Regions from separate parts of the Homo sapiens genome. Here region 1 is linked to region 2. Evidence: promoter capture Hi-C in 16 types of primary human blood cells and fetal thymus (Javierre and others, 2016). All regions are on one chromosome and are shown on one strand. Each heading gives the region's core, a stretch centred on a gene start or on the middle of the fragment in contact. The rest is flanking DNA. Distances are from core to core; before and after follow the strand shown.

Region 1 (4,743 bases), core at 955-3,454, 400 kb after region 2:
CTGCCCTTATAGCAGGAAAGCAGGTGTAGACAATAGGTAAATGAATGGGCTTGGCTGTGTTCTGATAGTATTTTATTTATGGACACTGAAATTTTTTTTTGTTTGGGGGGGTGGATGGAGTCTCGCTCTGTTGTCTCGACTGGACTGCAGTGGCACAAGCTCAGCTCACTGCAACCTCCACCTCCCTGGTTCAAGCGATTCTCATATCTCAGCCTCCCGAGTAGCTGGGATTACAGGCGCCCGCCACCATACCCAGCTAATTTGTGTATTTTTAGTAGAGACGGGGTTCACCATGTTGGCCAGGCTGGTCTTGAACTCCTGATCTCAGGTGATCAGCCCGCCTCGGCCTCCCAAAGTGTTGGGATTACAGGCGTGAGCCACCACGCCTGGCCTACCGAAATTTAAATTTCATATGCTTTTAGTTTTCACGGGTTAGGAAATACGATTCTTTTGTTTTCTTTGTTTTTTGTTTTGTTTTGGTTTTAGACAGGGTCTCACTGTCACCCAAGCTGGAGTACATTGGCACAATCATGGCTCATTGCAGCCTTGACCTCCTGTGCTCAAGGGATGCTCTCACCTCAGACGCCTGAGTAGCTGGGACTACAGATATTGATTTTTTTTTCCAACCATTTAAAAATGTAAAAACAGCTGGACGTGGTGGCATGTGCTTGTAGTCCCAGCTGCTCAGGAGGCTGAGGTGGGAGGATCCTTGAGCCCAGGTATTTGAGGCTGCAGTGAGCTGTGATTGTGCTACTGCACTTCCTTTTGAGGAAGACACTTTCTCAAAAATAGTAATAAAAATAAATAAATAAATATGTGAAAACCTGTCTTAGCTAGCAGGCCATACAAAAATGGGTAGTAGGTCAGGGTAATCCCTGAGATGGTCAGTGAGTAAACAAGTACAAAATATCATTAAAGGGCCAGACATGGTGGCTCACGCCTGTAATCCCAGCACTTTGGGAGGCTGAGGCGGGCGGATCACCTGAGGTCAGGAGTTCGAGACGAGCCTGGCCAATATGGTGAAACCCCATCTCTACGAAAAATACAAAAATTATCCAGGCGTGGTGGCAGGCGTCTGTAATCCCAGCTACTCGGGAGTCTGAGGCAGGAGAATGGCGTGAACCTGGAAGGTGGAGCTTGCAGTGAGCCGAGATCGCGCCACTGCACTCCAGCCTGGGCGACAGAGCGAGACTCCGTCTCAAAAAAAAAAAAAAAAAAAAAAAAAAGCAAAAATTAGCCAGGTGTGCACACCACGTCCAGCTAATTTTTTTTCAACCATTTAAAAGTGTAAAAACAGCTGGCCAGGCACGGTGGCTCACGCCTGTAATCCCCAACACTTTGGGAGGCCGGGGCAGGTGGATCACCTGAGGTCAGGAGTTCAAGACCAGCCTAGCTAACATGGCGAGACCCTGTGCACTAAAAAGACAAAAATTAGCAGGGCATGGTGGTGGGCGCCTGTAATTCCAGCTACTCGGGAGGCTGAGGCAGGAGAATGGCTTGAACCCGGGAGGCAGAGGCTCGTGCCATTGCACTCCAGCCTGGGCAACAAGAGCAAAACTCCGTCTCAAAAAAAAAAAAAAAAAAAAAAAGTGTAAAAACAGCTGAGCGTGGCGGTAGCTAGGTGTGGTGCGTCTGTAGTCCCAGCTACTTGGGAGGCTGAGGTAGGAAGATTGCTTGAGCCCAGGAGTGCCAAGCCAGCCTGAGCAACATAGTGAGACCTTGTCTCTACCAAAAAAAAAAAAAAAAAAAAAAAAAATTAGCTGGACATGGTGATGCTCGCCTGTGGTCCCAGCTACTTGTGGGGGGGTGGGGAGAGGCTGAGTGGGAGGATCCCTTGAGCTTGGGAGGTTGAGGCTGTAGTGAGCCGCGATCGCGCACCGCTGCGCTCTAGCCTGGGTGACAGAGTGAGACCCCGTCTCAAAATTAATTAATTAATTAAAACAACAAACAACAAAACCCCAGCTGTGTGGGCTCTGGGCTGGGCCGCCTCCCCGGCGGAGGGGGCTCCCTCTCAGGCAGACCGCCAGCCGCTGGGTCCGGGGACTGCCGGATCCGGAGGTGCGGGGACCCCTGCGCACCTGGCGGCTCCCGGGATGCCCCCCTGAGGCAGGCGGGAGGGCAGCACGGAGACGCCCCTCCGGGCAGAGCCCGCCCCAGCCACTCCCCTCTCCAACTCGACCTGCCTCAGCAAGTCCTGAGTGTCGCAAAAGCGCTAGGGTTGCAAGTGGCACCAGAGACGTGCCCTTGTCCCGGGGTCCATTTGAGGGTGAGCGTGTTGGTGCCGAGCTGTTTTTTTGTTTTGTTTTGTTTTGTTTTGTTTTTGAGACCGAATCTCGTTCTGTCGCCCAGGCTGGAATGCAGTGGTGTGATCTTGGCTCACTGCAACCTCCACCTTCCGGGTTCAAGTGAATCTCCTGCCTCAGCCTCCTGAGTAGCTGGGATTACTGGCACCCACCACCACGACCAGCTAATTTTTGTATTTTTAGTAGAGACGGGTTTTCACCATGTTGGCCAGGATGGTCTCAATCTCCTGACCTCAGGCGATCTGCCTTCCTCAGCTTCCCAAAGTGCTGGGATTACAGGTGTGAGCCACCGCACCCGGCCAGTGCTGAGCTGTTTTGACAACTTGGACCCCGGGTCCTCTGTGGGTAGGAAAATCAGCTCCCTCTTTGCTCCTCTGGGGCAGCTGCACCTCGGGCCAGCTTTCTGCCTGTCTGCCTGCCGGCACTGCTGGGTCGCTGTACCCAAACGCACAGCCGGTGCCCCGTGGTAAGTCCTGGCTCCCCACCTTCCCCGCCCGCCCCCGGCCACCTCTCCCTCCAGTTGCCCTGGTCTTAGCAGTCTGACCGACTTGTCTTCTGACTCCGGTTCTGTCCCACCAGCCTATTACCTGCCAGCCTGTCTGTTTCCCTCCAGCTAGAAGGTCTTCAGTTTCCAGAAGAACCAAAGCATCTTTGGACCTACCTAGGGAAGGACCTGCCTGTGACCTTTGCCCTGTCCTGGAGGGTCCAGCTTTGGGCTGAATGGCAGCACCCACGCTGGGCCGTCTGGTGCTGACCCACCTGCTGGTGGCCCTTTTTGGCATGGGCTCCTGGGCTGCTGTGAACGGGATCTGGGTGGAGCTGCCTGTGGTGGTAAAAGACCTTCCAGAGGGTGAGTGGGAGGGAGGTACAGGGAAGCGTGGGGCAGGTATGCCCAGAAAGGTGGCCTGTGGCAGCTCTTTGTCCCTTAGCCACTGTGCTCCTGACATGGCATCATTCCTTCCCTGCAGGTTGGAGCCTCCCCTCATACCTCTCTGTGGTTGTGGCGCTGGGAAACCTGGGTCTGCTGGTGGTGACCCTGTGGAGGCAGCTGGCCCCGGGCAAGGGCGAGCAGGTCCCCATCCAGGTGGTACAGGTGCTGAGTGTAGTGGGCACAGCCCTGCTGGCCCCTCTGTGGCACCACGTGGCCCCAGTGGCAGGGCAGCTCCACTCTGTGGCCTTCCTAACTCTGGCCTTGGTGTTGGCAATGGCCTGTTGTACCTCTAATGTCACTTTCCTGCCCTTCCTGAGCCACCTGCCACCTCCTTTCTTACGGTCTTTCTTCCTGGGTCAGGGTCTCAGTGCCCTACTCCCCTGTGTGCTGGCCCTAGTGCAAGGTGTGGGCCGCCTCGAGTGCCCACCAGCGCCCACCAATGGCACCTCTGGGCCTCCCCTCGACTTCCCTGAGCGTTTTCCTGCCAGCACCTTCTTCTGGGCACTGACTGCCCTTCTGGTCACTTCAGCTGCCGCCTTCCGGGGTCTCCTGTTGCTGTTGCCATCACTACCCTCTGTAACCACAGGGGGCTCAGGGCCTGAACTTCAACTGGGATCCCCAGGAGCAGAGGAGGAAGAGAAGGAGGAAGAAGAGGCTTTGCCATTGCAGGAGCCACCGAGCCAGGCAGCAGGCACCATCCCTGGCCCAGACCCTGAGGCCCATCAGCTGTTCTCAGCCCATGGTGCCTTCCTGCTGGGCCTGATGGCCTTCACCAGTGCCGTGACCAATGGCGTGCTGCCTTCTGTGCAGAGCTTTTCCTGTTTGCCCTATGGGCGCCTGGCCTACCACCTGGCTGTGGTGCTGGGCAGTGCCGCCAACCCCCTTGCCTGCTTCCTGGCCATGGGCGTGCTGTGCAGGTGCAAAAGGGTCCCCAGGCTTGGTGGGTGGAACTTAAGGTTGGGGTCCAGGTCCCAGAACAGCCAGCCCTGAGTCTCTGCTCATCCCCAACAGGTCCCTGGCAGGGCTGGTTGGTCTTTCTCTGCTGGGCATGCTCTTTGGGGCCTACCTGATGGCACTGGCAATCCTGAGCCCCTGCCCACCCCTGGTGGGCACCACTGCAGGGGTGGTCCTTGTGGTGAGCAAGTGGAGACATGAAGTGGGGAGGAGGGTGTCCCCTGGAGCAAGTGCATGTCATGCTCAGCCTGCTGCTGTGTCCTCCCTTGCAGGTGCTGTCGTGGGTGCTGTGTCTGTGTGTGTTCTCATATGTGAAGGTGGCTGCAAGCTCCCTGCTGCATGGTGGGGGTCGGCCGGCATTGCTGGCAGCTGGTGTGGCCATCCAAGTGGGCTCCCTGCTTGGTGCCGGTGCCATGTTCCCTCCCACCAGCATCTACCACGTGTTTCAAAGCAGAAAGGACTGTGTAGACCCCTGTGGCCCCTGAGCCTGGGCAGGTGGGGACCCAACTCCACCCCACCTGTCTTCATCGTGAGGCTGCCACAGTGCCTGACTAC
Region 2 (4,982 bases), core at 2,432-4,931:
GTAATCTTTCCCCAGATAATATTTTGCCCTAGAAGAAGCCGTGATTTAGCTCTTTTATTGTGCTTACTTGGTCCAAATACATCTGTGGGGTGTTTTGTCATTTCTTAATGAATGAATCATAGTTATAACCAGGGGCCAAGCTGCCCAAGAGGCTCTTCAGAGATCATGGATGCTCTCTTTCTGGAAGCTGTGGCCTGATGGAGCAGCCCCATTCCAGGGTCCCATCTGTCCGGAGTTGTGTATGTCAAGTCCGGCTCAGTCTTTATTTCCAACACTAGCCGTGGTCCTGTGCAGTCAAGCTCTCAGCTAGTGTTTAGGGCTGTCTGTCAGAAATGGTTATACGTGGGCAAAAGAAGATCTGACAGCTCCTATATACCTTATCTTACTGAATTCTTAAACTTTGAACCAGTTCTTCCACTTACTGACTTGTTACCACTGCTGACTTTCTGAAAAGTTTTCCAGTTTTTGTTTTTTGTTTTTTGTTTTCCAGTAGGGGATTAGAATGTTTAGTCCTACTTAGTAAGAAAAATATTGTATTTTTAATCATTCATAGTGCTGGTAAAAAAAAAAAAAAAAAAAAAAAAATTGGGGGGTGGCCGGGCGCAGTGGCTCACACCTGTAATCCCAGCACTTTGGGAGGCCAAGGCGGGCGGATCACCTCATGCCTGTAATCCCAGCATTGGGATGGGAGGCTGAGGTGGGTGGATTGCTTGAGAAGTTCAAGACCAGCCTGGCCAACATGGCAAAACCCCGTCTCTACTAAAAATAGAAAACTTAGCTGGGCATGGTGGCACACGCCTGTAATCCCAGCTACCGGGGAGGCTGAGGCACAAGAATTGCTTGAACTTGGGAGGCAGAGTTTGTAGTGAGCCAAGATCACGCCACTGCATTCCAGCCTGGCCGACAGTGTGAGACGGTCTCAGAAAAAAAAAGAAAGAAAGAAAGAAAAAGAAAAAACTTGGGGTAATTTATGTCCAGCTTAAGTACCTGAACAGTTTCCGGAAATGTATATTTTTTTTCTGAGAGGCAAAGGATGTAAACAGCTTCTAAGTAGCTTTAATGTTTCTGTACAGAAATAAGTTTATCCCTGTAACATTGTGGTAGAGTTTTAATACAGTATTTAGTTTTTTATTGGGCTTTTTTAAAAAGTTAACTTTTAACATAGCTGCTCAGGGATTAAATCAGATTGGAAAACCCATTCTGACTCCACATACTGCTACAAAGAAATACATCGTTGTTTATATTGAGCTGCAGGAGATAGTACACTTTAAACTTAAGAAAGTTAAATGTTTCACAATAACATTGCAATATAATCTTCAGCTACTCTCTTTCCATTGGTAAAATCTCTGATGGTGTGATAACTCTTTGCCAACCTACGAAACCCATATCTGGAAGAATCACCAGCTCCCGTGAGCAGCTTCATGTAAATAGATGCACTCCAAGCAGATTGCATGCCTCAGGTGTTTGTCTTCTAGTAATCATGGAGTGTGCAACACCCAGAGTAACACTACAAGGGGCAGGACTGCAAACAGCAGGTCCTGGCTAAAAACCCTTAATGCTGCATTGCTGCCAGTTGTAAAGAGATGCCTGAATGGAGGCAAGTTCTGCCCTGTGGGTGAAACTGATGATGTACTGTACTGTCATATATAAATCCACTAAATCCAGCTACCAGGAACTGCCTGGAACTGTGGCCATGCATTTTTTTTTTTCTTTAAAGACCAGTGTGATAGTAGGCCATGCATCTGAGATACGATATTCCTTGGTAACTAGAGGGAGAAAAAAAAATCAAGTAGGTTCAGGCTTATGTTGTATTTTGAGAGTCTGGTTTTATTTGAACAGAAATAACTCTACAGAAAGCTCTTGTAAATAATGCTCAAATTTGCACCCGACGATCAAATCCATTAAAAATGAATCTTGTATATGATGTGTGTGGCTTGTTTCTTGCATCTCTTTTCCATTATTCATAGAAAATTATTTAGAAAATATTAAGTGTTAGTCTTACCATGAGTTAGTAAGACATACCTTCTTAGTAGCTTATATGTCCTGTATATCCTGGGAAGGTAGGATTGTTGATTTTTAATAAATCTGAACCCTGTCTTTGGGTTATATTAATTTACTGGAGAAACTCACAGAACTCAGGGAAACACATTTACCGGTTTCATACAAAAGATATGACCAAGGATACAGATAAGGAGATGAGCAGGGTGGGGAATGGGGAAGAAGCTCCCAGCCTCCATGCCGTCCCTGGACCACCACCCTCCAGGAACCTCCATGTATTTAGCTATCAGAGGCTCTCCAAACCCTGTCCTCGGGTTTTTATGGAAGCCTCTGGACTTATCTAAATGATATAAGCTGGCTTCTTGTCCCCAGAAAAATGATGTTCCATTAGAACTTGGATGCAAGGTTGGAGGTGCAGAGAGGGAAGGTCACAAAAATTAATCATGGATCCTGCCCTTGAGGATGTCACAGTCTGGTTGGGTTTAACCTGGTTAAAGCAGCAACGCTAGGAGGTTCCTGTTGAAAAGAGAATGAAGCATATGGGCTGGGTGCGCACAAGCATGAGTTCCGAGCCGGTGGAAAAAAAGGTTCTAGAAGGCCTCTTTCAGGAAAACCCTCAGACTTTCCTTTGCTCTCACAACACAACAATCAACACAGAAGACTTATGTGGCCAAAGGTTTGGGTTTTTCCCCTCCACACTAAGCAGCAGACACCAGCTGGGTGTCCTCCAATTCAATCCCAACAGTATCTACCTGGAGATAGTGTCAGATCCCATAGGTTGAGGGCTCAGTCCCCAAGACCGCCCCCACCTTCAGACAGCAATGGCAAGTCTGGGCCTCTGAAACTTCCGACCAACCCGCTTCAAGTTGGGGTTCCCACGACCCCCCTCTTTGGATTATGTTAACTCACTGGAGCAGTTCACAGAACTCAGGGAAACACATTCACCGGTTTCATATAAAGGATATGACCAAGGATACAGATGAGATGAGCAGGGTGGGGAATGGGGAAGAAGCTCCGAGGTTCCTTGCCTACCCTGGGCCACCACCCTCCAGGAACCTCTACGTATTCAGCTGTCAGAGGCTCTGCAAACCCTCTCCTCTTGGGTTTTTATGGAAGCTTCTGGACATCAGCATCCCTTCCCCCAGGGTATATGGTGGGACCTTCTCTGGGAAGGGACTTAAGACCCATAATCAGAAATGTGGAAGGAGATTAGAGTCCTGCTTTGGGGCAGGTAAAAGGAGGGCAGGAGAAGGGGAGAGTCTGTTTCCTGAGGCCTAACACACCCAACATTATCACAGAACATTGTAACAAGGGCTATAGGAGTTACGACCCAGGAACTGTGGATGAAAACCAATACATATATATATCATAACACCACAGCCTCCTAGAGGAAAGTGACCGTGGAAGGGTCTGGTGAGAGCTGGCGGGAGACAAGAGTGCATTCCACGCAGCCCAAAAGCCTTGCGTGCTTTGAGAACAGCAGGTGGAAAGTGGGTAAGCGGCCACTAGAGGGAATTAAACAGCTTCGGACAGCGGACTCGGCAGCGCAGCAAGAAAGCTCCGGAATCCGGATTCGAGGCTTCCCGGGCTGCACCGGAGTCTCCAGCAGAGGGCGCGATTCCGCCCGCTGGCCTTAGGTCGTCAGAGCGCCGGCGCGGGAAGCGCTTCCGGGCAGGGGCGGGGCTTCCGGCGGCGCCTCAGGTCGCGGGGCGCCTAGGCCTGGGTTGTCCTTTGCATCTGCACGTGTTCGCAGTCGTTTCCGCGATGCTGCCTCTGCTGCGCTGCGTGCCCCGTGTGCTGGGCTCCTCCGTCGCCGGCCTCCGCGCTGCCGCGCCCGCCTCGCCTTTCCGGCAGCTCCTGCAGCCGGCACCCCGGCTGTGCACCCGGCCCTTCGGGCTGCTCAGCGTGCGCGCAGGTTCCGAGCGGCGGCCGGGCCTCCTGCGGCCTCGCGGACCCTGCGCCTGTGGCTGTGGCTGCGGCTCGCTGCACACCGACGGTGAGGTTTAGCGGGCCGGGGGTGTGGTTTGCGTTCAACAGAGGGAAAACGTAGACCAGGAATAGGGCCTGCAACCGACCTCTGAGGTCTGGGACATTTTTCCATTGATTGGCAACCAGCGGGCTAAACCCACGTATGATCATATTTCCCCCACCTCCCCTATCCAGCAGTTTCGTTTTCTTTTGGTAGGGGGTGAATAAAATTAAATACTAGGGTACCTTTTTCCTTAGTCTTATTCTATCGAAAGTGGACCTTTGGGAAGGCCCATGGTCGTGGTTGAAAATAGCATAGTTATATCGTTTGGCAAGTGGAAGAGGATTGGAAATTCTCCTGGTTTATAGCGGAAAGTGGTAATGCGTTCATTGTTGGAAATCACTTTTCCAGAATCAGGCTCAGCTTCCTACTACTATTATGGTATTTTTACCGATAAGGAAACAGGCTTCTAGAGTAACCGTAATAGCAGAGAGATTAGAAACAGTCCAGGTTTCTGGCTGCAATAACCTGGGTAATAGTTTTATGTTTTAGACTAACTGGCTTTCCTTTTTATGTATCTGGATTTCTTTTCTAGGAGACAAAGCTTTTGTTGATTTCCTGAGTGATGAAATTAAGGAGGAAAGAAAAATTCAGAAGCATAAAACCCTCCCTAAGATGTCTGGAGGTTGGGAGCTGGAACTGAATGGGACAGAAGCGAAATTAGTGCGGAAAGTTGCCGGGGAAAAGTAAGTACTGGTCTGGGGATCCCAGGGCAGCAACTCCCTTAACCTTGCAGGACCCATCCTGGGTCATCCCCAGAAGAGCCTTGAGTTCAGGTGTGGATACTTTGATAAATGGGTTTCAAGAGAGTGAAGGATTCATTTGGACAACTTCGTAAGCCCCAGGCAGTCCATTCACCGAACACAAATTTGCTGTGGGCTGGTTACTAAGGAGACAAAAATGTAGTGCAAAAAAGTACTGGCAGAATCAGTTTGATCTCTGATTTACAGCCCTG

What was found. The method cuts DNA at HindIII sites, captures the fragments that hold promoters and counts their contacts. A CHiCAGO score of 5 or more calls a contact.
Region 1: a contact is called between the fragment with the promoter of SLC52A1 here and the fragment with the promoter of C1QBP in region 2, in 3 of 17 cell types (naive B cells, naive CD8 T cells and total B cells). The highest score is 6.4, in naive B cells.

The regions. Positions count from the first base shown.
Region 1 is chr17:5,032,887-5,037,629 of GRCh38, reverse strand. SLC52A1 (solute carrier family 52 member 1) reads left to right here and starts at 2,204. Exons shown (of 5, transcript NM_017986.4): 1 at 2,204-2,769; 2 at 2,917-3,153; 3 at 3,272-4,151; 4 at 4,246-4,369; 5 at 4,461-4,743. The coding sequence starts at 3,024. The coding sequence ends at 4,673. All of the region lies in intron 3 of LOC105371501 (a long non-coding RNA gene), which reads right to left. The HindIII fragment of the contact is 18,376 bases long and covers 1-4,743 here.
Region 2 is chr17:5,437,854-5,442,835 of GRCh38, reverse strand. C1QBP (complement C1q binding protein) reads left to right here and starts at 3,681. Exons shown (of 6, transcript NM_001212.4): 1 at 3,681-3,994; 2 at 4,563-4,713. The coding sequence starts at 3,763. It overlaps DHX33 (DEAH-box helicase 33), which reads left to right. Exons shown (of 12, transcript NM_020162.4): 12 at 1-1,919. RefSeq lists an enhancer at 3,285-3,464 and silencers at 3,524-3,706, 3,685-3,854, 3,965-4,014. The HindIII fragment of the contact is 1,457 bases long and covers 3,117-4,573 here.